Linked DNA regions of Homo sapiens: region 2 is linked to region 1. Evidence: promoter capture Hi-C in 16 types of primary human blood cells and fetal thymus (Javierre and others, 2016). All regions are on one chromosome and are shown on one strand. The core of a region is centred on a gene start or on the middle of the fragment in contact, and the rest is flanking DNA. Distances in the headings are between cores, read along the strand shown.

Evidence for each region. The method cuts DNA at HindIII sites, captures the fragments that hold promoters and counts their contacts. A CHiCAGO score of 5 or more calls a contact.
Region 2: a contact is called between the fragment with the promoter of ITPRIPL1 here and the fragment with the promoter of STARD7-AS1 in region 1, in 4 of 17 cell types (neutrophils, monocytes, erythroblasts and 1 more). The highest score is 13.0, in neutrophils.

Annotation. Positions count from the first base shown.
Region 1 is chr2:96,206,760-96,211,759 of GRCh38, reverse strand. It overlaps STARD7-AS1 (STARD7 antisense RNA 1), which reads right to left and starts at 3,344. Exons shown (of 4, transcript NR_046322.1): 1 at 2,781-3,344. STARD7 (StAR related lipid transfer domain containing 7) reads left to right here and starts at 2,933. Exons shown (of 8, transcript NM_020151.4): 1 at 2,933-3,615. The coding sequence starts at 3,326. RefSeq lists silencers at 2,687-2,906, 3,257-3,516 and an enhancer at 2,649-3,239. The HindIII fragment of the contact is 17,331 bases long and covers 1-5,000 here.
Region 2 is chr2:96,322,861-96,327,379 of GRCh38, reverse strand. ITPRIPL1 (ITPRIP like 1) reads right to left here and starts at 2,063. Exons shown (of 3, transcript NM_001008949.3): 1 at 1,815-2,063; 2 at 1,531-1,633; 3 at 1-738. The coding sequence starts at 1,540. RefSeq lists an enhancer at 1,376-1,876 and a silencer at 1,899-2,148. The HindIII fragment of the contact is 6,653 bases long and covers 1-2,658 here.

The DNA of each region.
Region 1 (5,000 bases), core at 2,095-4,594:
TCCCATTTTTACTAAAAACAAATCATGATAGAACTGATTTGTTTACAAAATAAACCGCAGTCTTATTGTACTTGGCCTGATGATTTGCATAAAGTGAAGCAAGAATAATTATTTTTCACATAGGCTTTGTTTTTTTTTTTGAGATGAAGTCTTGCTTCGTGGCCCAGGCTAGAGTGCGGTGGTGCGATCGTGGCTTACTGCAACCTCCGCCTCCCAGGCTCAGGCGATTCTCCTGCCTCAGTCTTCCAAGTATCTGGGATTACAGGTATCTGCCACCACGCCCAGCTAACTTTTTGTATTTTCAGTAGAGACAGGGTTTCACCATGTTGGCCAGGCTAGTCTCAAACTCCTAACATTGTGATCTGCCTGCCTTGGCCTCCCAAAGTGCTGGGATAACAGGTGTGAGCCACTGCGCCTGGCCTTCACATAGGCTTTTAAAATTGGCTTTGATGGAACTCTGTTCCATAAGAAATCTTAGATAAGACCTTTTTAAAGCCAAGCCCAGCCATGGGTTTGTACCCTCGAATACCTATGAGTTGGGTAAATTCCTCTCCTCTTGAGGTGTCAAGATAACTTAGGTCTCCTGAGCCTGTTAGAAAGTGACATTCTTTACTTACCACAGGTCAGGAACCTCGTACAGGGACTGTGTTGACATAGTATGAGGCCAGATTTCCCAAGGGGCTCTATAAGTCAATTTTTTGGCTTATTGGCTCTATAAGTCAACTTTGTTTTTTTTTTTTTTGAGACGGAGTCTCGCTCTGTCGCCCAGGGTGGAGTGTAGTGGCGCGATCTCGGCTCACTGCTGCAAGCTCCACCTCCCGGGTTCACGCCATTCTCCTGCCTCAGCCTCCCGAGTAGCTAGGATTACAGGTGCCCACTACCACGCCCGGCTAATTTTTTGTATTTTTAGTAGAGACGAGGTTTCACCGTGTTAGCCAGGATGGTCTGGATCTTCTGACCTCGTGATCCGCCCGCCTTGGCCTCCCAAAGTGCTGGGATTAAAAGTGTGAGCCACCATGCCCGGCCTAGAGCTCTTTTTTCTAAGAAAAAATCCTTTTAAGGCCAGGCACGGTGGGTCATTGAATCGTGAATTCAATGGGTGGTCTCTGAGCAGTCACCCTGAATCAGGCCTGTTAAACTTCTTTCAGGGCTCACTGAATGTGACTAGATAAATAAGGAGTGTTCTCCAAGTTAGGCCTGCTGGATTTTCATCAGCAATTCCTTCAGAGATCCCCTCCATATATACAAACACACACACGAAGACAAGACAGACAGAAGGCCTTCCAAATTAAGGTCCCTAACCAAGAACTCCAAGAGTACCCCTTCCAAACTATCCTCCTATTCTCCATCTGACAAATCTCCCTGAAATATTCCTGATTGAGAAGTCTCCCGAACCAAGACTCTTCCTAGTTAGGGACAGCCAACTGGGATGCCCCAGGAGCCAAACTGAGACAGACACCCCATGGTGGAGCTACAGACACCCACCATGTGGCTACAGAATCAGTCCGGAGAAGGAAGGAGGCACTGGCAGCACCTAGGATACTCAGCAACCTGCCACCCCATGATGGGGCTATAGCTACAGACACTCCATGACCTGGCTACAGCGCCCCGCTATGGAGCTACAGATACCCTGTGACAGGGCTACAGTTATGGGATGTCTCCCCAGGACTATTTCTCCATTGCGATTAAGTCCATGCATATTGGGCTAGCAGTGCCCCACTGGCAGAGACGGTGCCAGAGTTAGCCCCTAGTCCAAGAGAACTATGTGGCCGCTTAGGCTGGCCTCTGGATCTGTCACCAGAGGTGGGGCTACCGAACCATGGACAGGTAGCCACAAGGGGTATCCCAGACGAACCCCCAAATTTGTAACCGTACAATGGGTTCACCTTGCCCACTGCCTAGACAGAGCCGATTTATCAAGACAGGGGAACTGCAATAAAGAGTAATTCACGCAGAGCCCACTATGAGACTGGAGTTTGTTTCAACATTACTCAATCAGTCTCCCTTAGCATTCCGGGATCAGAGTGTTTAAGGATAATTTGGTGGGTGGGGGAAGGCCAGTGAGTCCAGAGTGTTGACTGGTTGGGTCGAGATGAAATAATAGGGAATTGAAGCTGTCCTCTTGCACTGAGTTGGTTCCTGGGTGGGGGCCACAAGGTCAGATGAGCCAGTTTATCCATCTGGGTGGTGCCAGGATCCAACCAGTGCGGGGTCAGCAAAATATCTCAAGCACTGATCTTAAGAGCAGTTTAGGGGGATCACAATATCGTAGCCTCCAGCTGCATGACTCCTAAACCATAATTTCCAATCTTATGGCTAACTTATTAGTCCTACAAAGGCAGTCTAGTTCCCAGATAAGAAGATTTGTTTTGGGAAAGGGCTGTTATCCTCTTTATTTTAAACTATAAACTAAGTTCCTCCCAAAATTAGTTCACCTAAGCTCAGGAATGAACAAGGACAGAAGCAAGATGGAATTGGTTAGGTCAGATCTCTTTCACTGTCTCAGTTTTAATTCTGCAATGGCGGTTATCACTGGGAGCCCCCAGCCCCCGCAGAGACATGCGGAGCCCCGCCCCCACCCTGCACTCTAATAAAGAAGGGGGCCAGCGTGCCGGCCTCTTAAAACAAGTTAACACCTGGCAGGATTCTAACAGGAACCTGGCCAGGTTTCTCCGCGGGGCGGGGCTGGGACGGCCGGAAGATGGCGGCGACGGCGGCAGCCGGGTCCGAGGGTCACTCTCCAATGCGCCCTTGACGGCTCTCGCCGCCGAGCCACCTACCTTGCTAGCAGGCGGCCTCCGCGCATGCATGAAGGGGCAGGAGGGGGCGGTGACGAGCACTTCACGGCGCCAATGAGCACCCAGGAGCCCAGGTCGCGCCCAATCACGGCCCAGGTGGCGGAGAAAAAGTAGGGTGCGCGCGCGCCGCGCGTGTGGCAGTCGCGGAAGGCGCGGGAGCTTGCGTGCTGCTGGGCCTGAGCTGTCTGTCTCGTTTCTGTCCGCGCGCCCTGCATCCCGGCCCCGGGCGCCCGCTGGAGGTCGCCGAGGAGCCACAGGGCTGACTGGTCTGCTGCCCGGGCCCAGGAGTGCCTGGTGTAGCAGTCGCGGAGCCATCCCGGCGTCTGCTGCCATGACCGACTCTCCCCTCAGAGGAGACTCTTCCTCAGCGGTGGCTGCAGAGACAGATGAGCGGCGGCTCCTGGCCGCGGGACCGTGAGACGGGTTCGTGGCCGGCCATTTAGGGGGACGCTGCGACCACCGCCTGCGCCCCTCCGGACTGGTTCCTTGGGCCCCGGAAGCTCGCGGCGGGCCCTGCGGGAGGCGGCATGCTCCCGCGGAGGCTGCTGGCCGCCTGGCTGGCGGGGACGCGGGGCGGGGGCCTGCTGGCGCTTCTGGCCAATCAGTGCCGCTTCGTCACGGGCCTGCGCGTGCGGCGCGCGCAGCAGATCGCGCAGCTCTACGGCCGCCTCTACTCCGAGAGCTCACGCCGCGTTCTCCTCGGCCGCCTCTGGCGCCGGCTGCACGGCCGTCCTGGCCATGCCTCTGCCTTGATGGCGGCGTTAGCCGGCGTCTTCGTTTGGGACGAGGAGAGGATCCAGGAGGAGGAGTTGCAGAGGTGGGCGCTGCGGCGAGCTCTTTCTGGGCCGTGGGGTGGGGGGGCTTGTGAACCCTGGGGCCTGCCCTGTGGTCGTTGGCCCTTGTTTACCCGGTGGTCTTTTAATTGGCAATACAGTCGATTGAACCTGCTTCAGCAAACCGCGTTGTTATTTGTCTCTGTGTGTCAATTTGCATTTGTCGGGTTATAAAATAGAACTGAAAGTGTGTAGGCTGGTGTGTAGGAGGGAGACTTTGAGTGGGGCGAGCAAGACAGTAAAGAAACAACACTGTAGAAATCAATTAGATAGCGAAGGCATGGAGGCCCTTGTTCATGTAATCTGTAATCTTTAACACAACCAGAAAGGTGCAAATTCAAAACAAATTTTAAATTTGGCCTAAGGGTGGTGGGCTGCTATTTGCAAAATGACTTCAATCCAGATGGGACTCAGGCCTGTGAGAAAAGCCAGGAGAGCCCTCTGTCATCGTGACTCGTGGCAAAATTGAGAGCCTGGAAGCGATTTTGTCCAGGTTACACAAACCAGCAGCCCAGACATTTGAACCTGTAAGAATTAGGTCAGATTTTTGCGACGTTAACTAGAACTTTGGGAATAGTGTCCCATTAGACTCTGAAGTCATGCTGTCGTCATCAAAACTGTGAAAAGCCCAGTACCATTGATTACGTTTGTTAATCTGTAGTTCTGAGACTGTAGTTTCCAGGTAATGTCATGGGGAAACTTTGCTTTGGTTTTTGGTTTACCTTGTGTCTGTATTTTCTTTGCAACAGATATTCTTAAACTGTGCCCTCCCTGCACAGAAAGTACTTTGCCGTGATTTCGGGAACCAGAGACAATCCCCTCCCTCCGCAGATTCCACACTCGCCTGTTTATTCTTGATATTTCCTCCACAGGGAAACAACCTGTTATTCCACATTTTTTGTTAGGTTAAAAATGGAAATACCCCAATAAAGTTTATACCATGGCCTGTGTGGGAGGTGTAACACCCAGATGCCAGGCAGCTATTTGTGCCACACTATGAATTGTGGGTAAATGCAAGTCTATCTTAAGAACTGGGAATACTTTTCCTAGCAGGAAAGATAACTTTTATAAATGCAACTTAAAATAATAACCACAAACAACCTTATTCACAAAAAAGTTAAGCTATCAAAGCGTGATAGGTATTTTGCCTAGTTCCTATTAGTATTCTTTTGCTACTTGGCCATTGGTTATAATCACAGTCTCTTGGGTGTGGGAAATAAAAGAATAGGAAGAAAACTTCTAAGTTGACAAATTATCATTAACTTTTAATTTTCATTTTTGATGATGAAATGTCCGTGTTCCACTTTTTTTTTTTTTTTTTTTTTTTTGAGACGGAGTCTCGCTCTGTCGCCCAGGCTGGAGTGCAGTG
Region 2 (4,519 bases), core at 814-3,313, 120 kb before region 1:
CAAACATGGTGCCCTGTGGGGGGACAATGGGCACCAGGATATCAAATTTCTGGGTCTCATGGAGGGTTCCCCATTTCTCAAAGGCAGCCCCGATGCCCAGGCAGTCTTCCAATTGTGGGTGAGCCTCTTGGCGGCTGAGCACCCGACAGGCCTCAATGAGATCATCCACAAAACTCTCCACAAACTCACAGGTGCAGGGCAGGTCACGGATGGCATTTTGGACATAGTGTTTGTAAAAGGAGTCCAGGGCCTCCTGGGAGGGGAAGTCAGTAAGCCAGTTGTAAGAGGTGACAGGGACAACACGGACTTCCTCCTCCTCCTCCTCACTGCTGGAATCAAAGGCCGGTTCATGCTGCATGTTCTGTCGCAGGAGCTCAAAGACGAGAAAAAGGCAAAAGAGGCCAGTGTTCCACAGGTTTCCCAGCATCCAGCCCAGAGGCCCTTCCTGGCCATCGGCCTGGAACGGCCACCCCATGTCTTTCTTCCCCAGCACTAACTGGTCACTGGATGTGTCTCCTGTCCAGAAGTTCTCTGCCTTCTGCCTCTGCTCAGCGGCTCGCTTTCTCTCTTCAAACTCCATCTCTAGCAGGCGCATCTCCTCACTCATTCGCTTCTCCAGCTGCCGACTCCTGGCTAATGTGTCCAGGTCCATCCGATCACTGACCATCAGAGGGTGGTGAACAACATACATCACTGCCAAGAACAGCAGGCTTATCACAGCCATGGAGGCCTCTGCATCTGGAGAAGTAGGAGAGTAGGAGTCAGTGGTCATCTTCCAGACTTATCTGCTCTCTAGCTCACATTCCCCAGAGCCCTGGTACCCCAAATTCTGAAAATCAGCTACTCAGGAGGAACAGAAAGCCCACAGAGCTTGGCTTGGACACAGCAAGGGTGGTCGGCCTGGGAGGAGGTTCGAGAGAAAAGAGGGCGAAAGGATGTGCCACTCAGTCTCTCTCCTGCTTTCCTTCCACATGGTGTGGGTGGTATTTAGGCTTCCAGAAAGTGTACATGGGACTGTTTTCATTCCTGTGTAGGATGGGGAGGGGGACCCTTGTGGTAGGGTGGCCTCACCCGACTCCTCAGTCAACCATGGGCACCAGATATGACCTGCTGATCCCAGAGGCTCCCTTTTATAGCCAGAAAGCCCTGAACCTGCCTGGGTGACACCTTTCCTCTGCCCCGGCAGCCAGTTGTAGCATTCCACTTCCTCTGTGACTTCACAGTCTTCATTCTGCTCACCCAGTATGAAGTGAGCCTCATCACTCAGCCTCTCCCTCTCTGCCCAGGGAGCGCAAGAGAGGCACAGTGCCGCCAGCTGCTTGCTACGGTGCCCTCTCTGCTCCTAAGGGGCTAGTGGATACCCCGTGTGTGGGCAGGCTAGCTTCACTTCTTAGTTCAGAAAACTGTCTGCAGAACCAGGTGCCCAAGGCCTACCTGACAGCCGGCAGTGGTCAGTTCCACTGCCTCCCCACCCACCCGTGAAGCCCGAGCTTCTGCCACTCACCCTAATTCACAAGCTACCGCGCTTACCAACATTCATGAAGGACTATGCCGTGTGGACGCTGAAGCCAGCTGGGCCTATCCTCCCTTTGGAACTTGGCCTTGCTTCGTCTCCCCGCCCTCTCTAGGAGCCCTGTTAAAATGTACAAGGTACCTGGGGGCTTTGGCTCAAATCGGAACCCGACCCTCCCCCCATTCATAACTTCCCCAAATTCCACGCCCAGAGATTTGTACTCTCACCCGCCTATCCGTAGGAGGCCAAGGGCCCATCCTACCTCGGGATGTCTCCCGGGACCCAGGGCCAGGTTACTCACCGTCAGTGTTAGTAGGAACACGATCTTAAAGAGACAGCGCGGCCTGACCGCCACTGCTTTTTTCCCGGCAGGGTGGGGGCGTCCGGTTCATCGCTGGGGCCGCCCGCGGGAGTGGCCCTGCTCCCCTTTCCTGGGTTATAGACCATGCTTGTCCGAGCGTCTGAACGTCTGGCTGAGCGCGGTGGGCCCCTACGACCCCCAGCACGCGGCTCCGAGGGCGCCCGCGCGCCGCAGCCGCTCCCGCCGTCCGGGCTCCTCCCCGCCCACCCAGTACAAGCTCCTCCCCGCCCAAACCCCCGTGGCCCAGCGTGCAGGGGCAGCGGCCTCCCCACACCGGGTCTCTGTCCGCACCGAGGCCCCCGTGGGTTTGCTGGGAGAGTGGAGGGGCCGTGGCCACACACTCTCCGCTGCTCGGCCTCCCTGGGGTGGCAAATGGGGCACCGCCGTGCCTGCTGTCAGCTGCACTCAGCTCAGTTCAGTGGAGAACAGACTTACTAGGATTCGGGTGTAAGGATGATGGTGGCAAAACTAGGAATTGACCGAGAAAAGCCATTCTCACTTCGGGCTGGCCCTGAGCAAAATGGCACACGAAATAAGATGTGGTTTCAGCACCCTAAATGTGCTTCCCTCCCAGCCCACGCCCAGACTCAGGCATCTTTCCCCAACCCCTTTCTCATATCAAAGTGACTCTCATGAAAGAACAGACAGCACCCAAAGACCTTACTTGGGGCCTTGCTTGCTACTCACTGGCCACGTGGGAGTAAGAATCCTACCTACAGGGCAGCTCTGCTGATACATGGGTGTATAAAGGAGAACTTTATACGGTGTGGAGGCTGGACAAGCTTTATCACACCTTAAGAAACACAACAGAATGGGTTTCCTGAAAGGGATCTTCAGATATCAGAAAGAGCCCTTAGTCTTCCTGTCTTGTGTCAGCTATCCAAGAAGAAAAGGAAGTGATGACCCCTTGATACTAACTCACTAAAATCCCTCTGCTGAAAGACAAGTTTCAGGGTTTTTATTTGTTTGTTTGTTTTTGAGAAAGAGTTTCGCTCTGTCACCCAGGCTGGAGTGTAGTGGCACCATCTTGGCTCACTGCAGCCTACCCGCCCCAGGTTCCAGTGATTCTCCTGCCTCAGCCTACTGAGTAGCTGGGACCACAGGTGTATGCCACCATGTCCAGCTAATTTTTGTATTTTTAGTAAAGACGGGGTTTCACCATGTTGGCCATGCTGGTCTCGAACTCCTGACCTCAGGTGATCTGCCCGCCTCGGCCTCCCAAAATGCTGGGATTATATGTGTAAGCCATCACACATGGCTGGGTTTCAGGTCTTCTTATCCAGTGGCAATGTGTAGGGAGCTCCCAAACAACTTGTACAATACTTCCAAGAATACTGACTTATTTAATTGTGGAGCAGGAAAAACTGTCTGCTAGCTGACAATGACTGAAGTTCCAAAGTTACTTTTTATAAATGTGAATTATGAAAAATAGATCACAGGTTATTGAGCATTCATGCATTTGGAGCAGTAATAATGAAAGTCTCTTATCTTTTCACTTATGACATGATGTCAGGATGCAAAATATATGCTTCAGAGTGTGCAAAAACGATAATGTTTAAGACCATGTGTTTTAAAGTTGTATTATTTTAATTAACAAATAATAATTGTACATATTCATAGGGTGCACAGTCATGTTTCATACATACAATGTATAATTTCAGATTAGGGTAATTAGCATATCCATCATCTCAAACATTTATCATTTCTTTGTGTTGGGAAGGTTCAATCCTCCCTCTAGCTATTTGAAACTATATATTATTACTATTATTATTTTGTGTGTGTGTGTGACGGAGTCTTGCTCTGTCACCCAGGCTGGAGTGCAGTGGCACCATCTCAGCTCACTGCAACCTCCACCTCCTGGGTCAAGCAGTTTTCCTGCCTCAGCCTCCCAAATAGCTGGGATTACAGGCACACACCACCAAGCCCGGCAATTTTTTTGTATTTTAGTAGAGTGGGGGTTTCACCATGTTCTCGAGCTCCTGAGCTCAAGCAATCTGCCCACCTTGGCCTCCCAAAGTGCTGGGATTACAGGCATGAGCCACCATGCCTGGTCTATTATTGTTAACTGTAGTCAACCTACAGTGGTGTGAAACCCTAGTACTTAGTCCTCCCATCTGGCTATAATCTTGAATCCTTTAACAAATCCCTCCCTATCACCACCTTCCCCTCCCCTTCCCAGCCTCTAGCATCCTCTGTTCTACCTTTTACTTCTATTACATCAACTTTTTCTAGGTTCCACATGTGACTGAGAACATGTGGTGTTTATCTTTCTGTGCCTGGCTTATTTCACTTAATATCCTCCAATTCCATCCAAGTTGCTGCAAATGACAGGATTTCATTTTTTTTTATGGCCAAATAGCATTCCATTGTGTACATATACCACGTTTTCCTTATTCATTCATCTATTGTTGGACACATAGGTCAATTCCATATTGGCTATTCTGAATAGTGCAGCTATAAACATGAGGGTGCAGATTTCTCTTTGATATAATGATTTCCTTTCCTTTGGATAGATTTTAAGTAATGGGATTGCTAGATCATGTGAGTAGTTCTACTTGTAGTTTTCTGAGGAACCTCCATGTTATTCTCCATAGCAGCTGTGCTAGTTTACCCAACAGCATATCAGAGTTCCCTTTTCTCCCCAT